2 separate regions of the Homo sapiens genome follow, and region 2 is linked to region 1. Evidence: promoter capture Hi-C in 16 types of primary human blood cells and fetal thymus (Javierre and others, 2016). All regions are on one chromosome and are shown on one strand. The core of a region is centred on a gene start or on the middle of the fragment in contact, and the rest is flanking DNA. Distances in the headings are between cores, read along the strand shown.

Region 1 (2,840 bases), core at 146-2,645:
GTCGGGGGTAATGGAGGAGGAGGAGAAATGAGAGACTGGAGGCCTCATTTTGGAAAGTGGGTTACTGAGGAAGAATCAACACTTAGTAGGGAGCAGAACCACCAAGGACTGCATGTGAGAGTTTGGAAAAGTTTTGAGACAGAAGATGGTAGTTGGGAGCATCTGTCATATAGTGTAGCATGAAAAATGCAGGGAGGGAGGGAGGCAGAGATCGGGAAAGATGATTTTAAAGCATGTTCTTGTATGTAATTAGTGTAATTCCCATTTTGCCATTTCCAAGAGTCCGGAGAAGATCCTAATTGATTTTCAACTACTTCCTAATGATACTTGCTAAGATGAACCCAGAGGGGTCGCTTTATCTATAAATACTTACTAAATATGATTATCTTCTCTGGAGCCCAGATCATCTTCCTTAAAGTTGCAGTGCAGTAGTGCCAATATTACGATATGCTATGCAGTAAAGTTGGCCCTGTGTGTGTTTATTGCCCTTACGAGTTTATAAACAGGCTCCTTGACGATAGGGATTTTTCTTAATCATCTTTGTGCCCTACCCAGCTCCAGCTTCCAGCCACCCAGTTAGTGAAAACTGTACAAACTACATGTTCAAAAATTAGTGTGAAATGAATGCACAGGTGATGAATGAATGGGATTGAAATTAAAGGGTGATTTCGTTAGCAGCGTCTATGACAGCACTGCCTTTCCCCCCACCAGCTGATGGGCTCCGTGAGGGACCAAGGCTCTTTGGTCCTCACTTTGTCCCCAGCACTTGCACTCTGTCAAGCACAAAATAAGCATCGGGAGAATCTTTGTGTCCCCTCGAATGAGTATTTCAGTGTATCAAGAATGGAAGAAAGGCCAAGCGCAGTGGCTCATGCCTGTAATCCCAGCACTTTGGGTCGAGGCGGGCGGATCACTTGAGGTCAGGAGTTATAGACCAGCCTGGCCAACGTGGTAAAACCCTGTCTCTACTAAAAATACAAAAAATTTAGCCCGGCGTGTTGACGGCCGCCTGTAATCTCAGCTACTCGGGATGCTGAGGCAGGAAAATCGCTTGAACCCGGGAGGTGGAGGCTGCAGTGAGCCTAGATCGTGCCACTGCACTCCAGCCTGGGCGACGGAGCGAGAGTCTGTCTAAAAAAAAAAAAAAAAAAAAAAAAAAAAAAAAGAATGGAAGAAAGCAAAACAATCCAAGGCCAAACTGAAGCGAGCTGCCTTGGTGGGGCTCCGGTGCAGAAGCGCAGCGTCGCCTGCTCTTGGGTGCCTAATGAACGACCGGACTCCTGCAGGCGCTCCGCCAACTGCAGCGATCTCTGGAGCCGGCCTGTCCTCCACAGAGATAGGGGGCGCTGTAGCAGAGCGCGGCCGTCGAGTCCGCGTGGTGCCGCTCTCTAGGCGGAGTGGGGAGGCGGCAAGAGGACCTGCGGCAGGCCCTCTTCGGCAGTCTCTCCGGCCCGGTTTCCCTCGGCGTGCTACTGTGCGCTCGATCCAGCACCATGGGGAAGCGGGACAATCGGGTGGTGAGTACTCAGCCGGGAAAACAGTGGGGCGACGCAGGGCCCGGCGGCAGGACAGCGAGAACCCTCGCTGTTCCCGGCCGGGCCGGAGGGCAAGCGGCAGCCCTCAGACGTGGGGCCTGGAGACCCAGCACCCTCCGCCGATCCCAGATGCGCGTGCGCCGCGCACGCAGTTGGCGCTTTAGGGTTCCCAGCTCTCTCTTGCCCGCCCCTTTTTTCTTCCCTCACCTCGTCGCTCTTTCTGGCGCTGCTGGTTTGCACTCTTGCCTGCTGTACGCGGGCCCCCAGTGCCCACTTAGAACCGCGAGGGCTCGGGGAACCCCCCCCACACCTGGCCCCGCCATGTAACTCCGAAGACTTAGGCCCTTGGACGCATCCGACTCACCCGCCCCTTGGTATCGGCCGCCCCAGGTCCGCACCCCTCTCCTGCGCACCCAAGTGGGAGGGAGGCACAGAGGCCTCGACGCGGTCCCTGTGCCGGAGAGCCAGCAGCGCGCCTGGTTTTAGCGACAAGCAGGCTCCCGTTTGAAAATGGGATGGCAGCATTTGCTTTCGTGTCTCCAGCGCCCTGTAGGACCTGGCCCCCATAGACACTGTGAGGGAATGAATGGCGTGAAAATAGTTGGCTTTCGAGTCCAACACAAAACTGGAATGTCAGTTTTGTTCCGTCGGAAGTTGGGTGACCTAGAACAAGTTACTTTTCTTCTCTGTGCCGTCGTTTATAAAAGGGGATCATTATTATCTACAACCTTACAGATTAATTGAAATCACAAAAGGCAAGATGTGTGAGCGAGTACTGGGCATGAAAATTATTACTCTAGTGAATGAGATAAAAGAGATGCATAAATAACTTACAGCAGAAAGAGTAGGAAATGGTCCTTGATAGTTGTTAGAGATTCTAAAGGCATTCAAAAGAAAAGGTGCTTTTGAGAAGCGGAGATGGGAGGAAAGTATTCTAGACCGCTGGGGCGGGGAGGGGGCTGAAAAACTCAGGTTATGAATCAGATTGAATGAGTAGTAAACATAATGAAATAACAATAAGCTTAGGTTGCAGCCTGACAATTTCTGGGCTTGCCTGTGACAAAGTTTTAGCCACTGAGTAGCAAAATGAGGAAAATGCACGTAAAACGAATGTGCTACGTTTCTTGAACTCGCTTTTTTATTCAACAATTATTTGCAAGCTGTGTGTGTCTCACACCAAAGGAGACTTAACATTTACGAAATGATGACACTTGCCATCTGTAGTAGCCAGTTCTTGCATGGCTTTTATAAAGAAAAACCTGAGGCTGGGTAATTTATAAAGAAAAGTGTTTAATTGGCTCACGG
Region 2 (2,840 bases), core at 155-2,654, 520 kb before region 1:
CATCTGGTCTATTGATGACTTTGTGATTACTTAAAAATATGAGTTTTGCAATTTTTCAGATTTTGATCTCATGGTTGCAGTGGGTGAATAGGTGGCCTTTTGTGATCTCCTACATCACCCTGGAAGTGAGACTTCTTCGGTTTCTTCTAGAGTCAGTTTGGTAAGCTATATTTTTTAAGAATTTGCTCAATTAATCTCAGTTTTCAATTTATTCAGTTAAAGTTGGTTCATTTTTAAAGTTTCTAATATTGCTTATTTGTGCCACCTTTCTTTTTTATTTTTTGGTTAATCATTCCATGGATGTGTCAATTTTATTACTTTTTATCTAAACAGCTCTTGGACTTCACTGAGTCTCTCTTGTCATTTTGTTTTCCACTTTATAAATTCCTGCTCTTATCTTTATTTTTCTCATTCTTCTTATTTCAGTTTTATTCTGTTATTCTTCTTTCAATTTATTAAACTGGCATTAGGTTCATGATTTTCAGTCATTCCTCCTTTTTTAAAAAACTATACTTTAAGTTCTAGGGTACATGTGCACAACGTGCAGCTTTGTTACATATGTATACATGTGCCATGTTGGTGTGCTGCACCCATTAACTTGTCATTTACATTAGGTATATCTCCTAATGCTATCCCTCCCCCCTCCCCCACCCCACAACAGGCCCCAGTGTGTGATGTTCCCCAACCTGTGTCCCAGTGTTCTCATTGTTCAGTTCCCACCTGTGAGTGAGAACATGTGGTGTTTGACTTTCTGTCCTTGGCAACACTTTGCTCAGAATGATGGTTTCCAGCTTCATCCATGTCCCTACAAAGGACATGAACTCATCCTTTTTTAAGGCTGCATAGTATTCCATGGTGTATATGTGCCACATTTTCTTAATCCAGTCTATCAATGATGGACATTTGGGTTGGTTCCAAGTCTTTGCTATTGTGAATAGTGCCGCAATAAACATACGTGTGCATGTGTCTTTATAGCAGCATGATTTATAATCCTTTGGGTATATACCCAGTAATGGGATGGCTGGGTCAAATGGTATTTCTAGTTCTAGATCCTTGAGGAATTGCCACATTGTCTTCCACAATGGTTGAACTAGTTTACAGTCCCACCAACAGTGTAAAAGTGTCCCTATTTTTCCACATCCTCTCCAGCACCTGTTGTTTCCTGACTTTTTAATGATCCCCCATTCTAACTGGTGTGAGATGGTATCTCATTGTGGTTTTGAGTTGCATTTCTCTGGTGGCCAGTGATGATGAACATTTTTTCATGTGTCTGTTGGCTGCATAAATGTCTTCTTTTGAGAAGTGTCTGTTCATCTTTTGCCCACTTTTTGATGGGGTTGCTTGATTTCTTTTTGTAAATTTAAGTTCTTCATAGATTCCGGATATTAGCCCTTTGTCAGATGGGTAGATTGTAAAAATTTTCTCCCATTCTGTAGGTTGCCTGTTCACTCTGATGATAGTTTCTTTTGCTGTGCAGAAGTGCTTTAGTTTAACTAGATCCCATTTGTCAATTTTGGTTTTGTTGCCATTGCTTTTGGTGTTTTAGTCATGAAGTCCTTGCCCATGCCTATGTCCTGAATGGTATTGCCTAGGTTTCCTTCTAGGGTTTTTATGGTTTTAGCTCTAACGTTTAAGTCTTTAATCCATCTTGAATTAATTTTTGTATGAGGTGTAAGGAAGGGATCCAGTTTCAGCTTTCTATATATGGCTAGCCAGTTTTCCCAGCACCATTTATCAAATAGGGAATCCTTTCCCCATTGCTTGTTTTTGTCAGGTTTGTCAAAGATCAGATGGTTGTAGATGTGTGGTATTATTTCTGAGGACTCTGTTCTGTTCCATTGGTCTATATCTCTGTTTTGGTACCAGTACCATGCTGTTTTGGTTACTGTAGCCTTGTAGTATAGTTTGAAATCAGGTAGCATGATGCCTCCAGCTTTGTTCTTTTGGCTTGGGATTGACTTGGCAACGCGGGCTCTTTTTTGGTTCCATATGAACTTTAAAGTAGTTTTTTCCAATTCTGTGAAGAAAGTCATTGGTAGCTTGATGGGGATGGCATTGAATCTATAAATTACCTTGAGCAGTATGGCCATTTTCATGATATTGATTCTTCCTATCCATGAGCATGAAATGTTCTCTCATTTGTTTGTGTCCTCTTTTATCTCATTGAGCAGTAGTTTGTAGTTCTCCTTGAAGAGGTCTTTCACATCCCTTGTAAGTTGGATTCCTAGGTATTTTATTCTCTTTGAAGCAATTGTGAATGGGAGTTCACTCATCATTTGGCTCTCTGTTTGTCTGTTATTGTTGTATAGGAATGCTTGTGATTTTTGCACATTGATTTTGAATCCTGAGACTTTGCTGAAGCTACTTATCAGCTTAAGATTTTGGGCTGAGACGATGGGGTTTTCTAAACATACAATCATGTCATCTGCAAACAGGGACAATTTGACTTCCTCTTTTCCTAACTGAATACTCTTTATTTCTTTATCCTGCCTAATTGCCCTGGCCAGAACTTCCAACACTATGTTGAATAGGAGTGGTGAGAAAGGGCATCCCTGTCTTGTGCCAGTTTTCAAAGGGAATGCTTCCAGTTTTTGCCCATTCAGTATGATATTGGCTGTGGGTTCGTCATAAATAGCTCTTATTATTTTGAGATATGTCCCATCAATACCTAGTTTATTGAGAGTTTTTAGCATGAAAGGCTGTGGAATTTTGTCAAAGGCATTTTCTGCATCTATTGAGATAATGATGTGGTTTTTGTCTTTGGTTCTGTTTATATGATGGATTACGTTTATTGATTTGTGTATGTTGAACCAGCCTTGCATCCCAGTGATGAAGCCCAC

The links. The method cuts DNA at HindIII sites, captures the fragments that hold promoters and counts their contacts. A CHiCAGO score of 5 or more calls a contact.
Region 2: a fragment that was not itself captured here is called in contact with the fragment with the promoter of FAM133B in region 1 in 7 of 17 cell types (fetal thymus, total CD4 T cells, naive CD4 T cells and 4 more); the score reaches 8.5 in fetal thymus.

The regions. Positions count from the first base shown.
Region 1 is chr7:92,588,945-92,591,784 of GRCh38, reverse strand. FAM133B (family with sequence similarity 133 member B) reads left to right here and starts at 1,395. Exons shown (of 11, transcript NM_152789.4): 1 at 1,395-1,517. The coding sequence starts at 1,494. RefSeq lists enhancers at 1,238-1,517, 1,608-1,667. The HindIII fragment of the contact is 8,062 bases long and covers 1-2,558 here.
Region 2 is chr7:93,112,115-93,114,954 of GRCh38, reverse strand. SAMD9 (sterile alpha motif domain containing 9) reads left to right here. Exons shown (of 3, transcript NM_017654.4): 2 at 60-160. Among named protein-coding and RNA genes, the nearest start is that of SAMD9, 4.4 kb to the left of the region's middle. The HindIII fragment of the contact is 2,912 bases long and covers 1-2,840 here.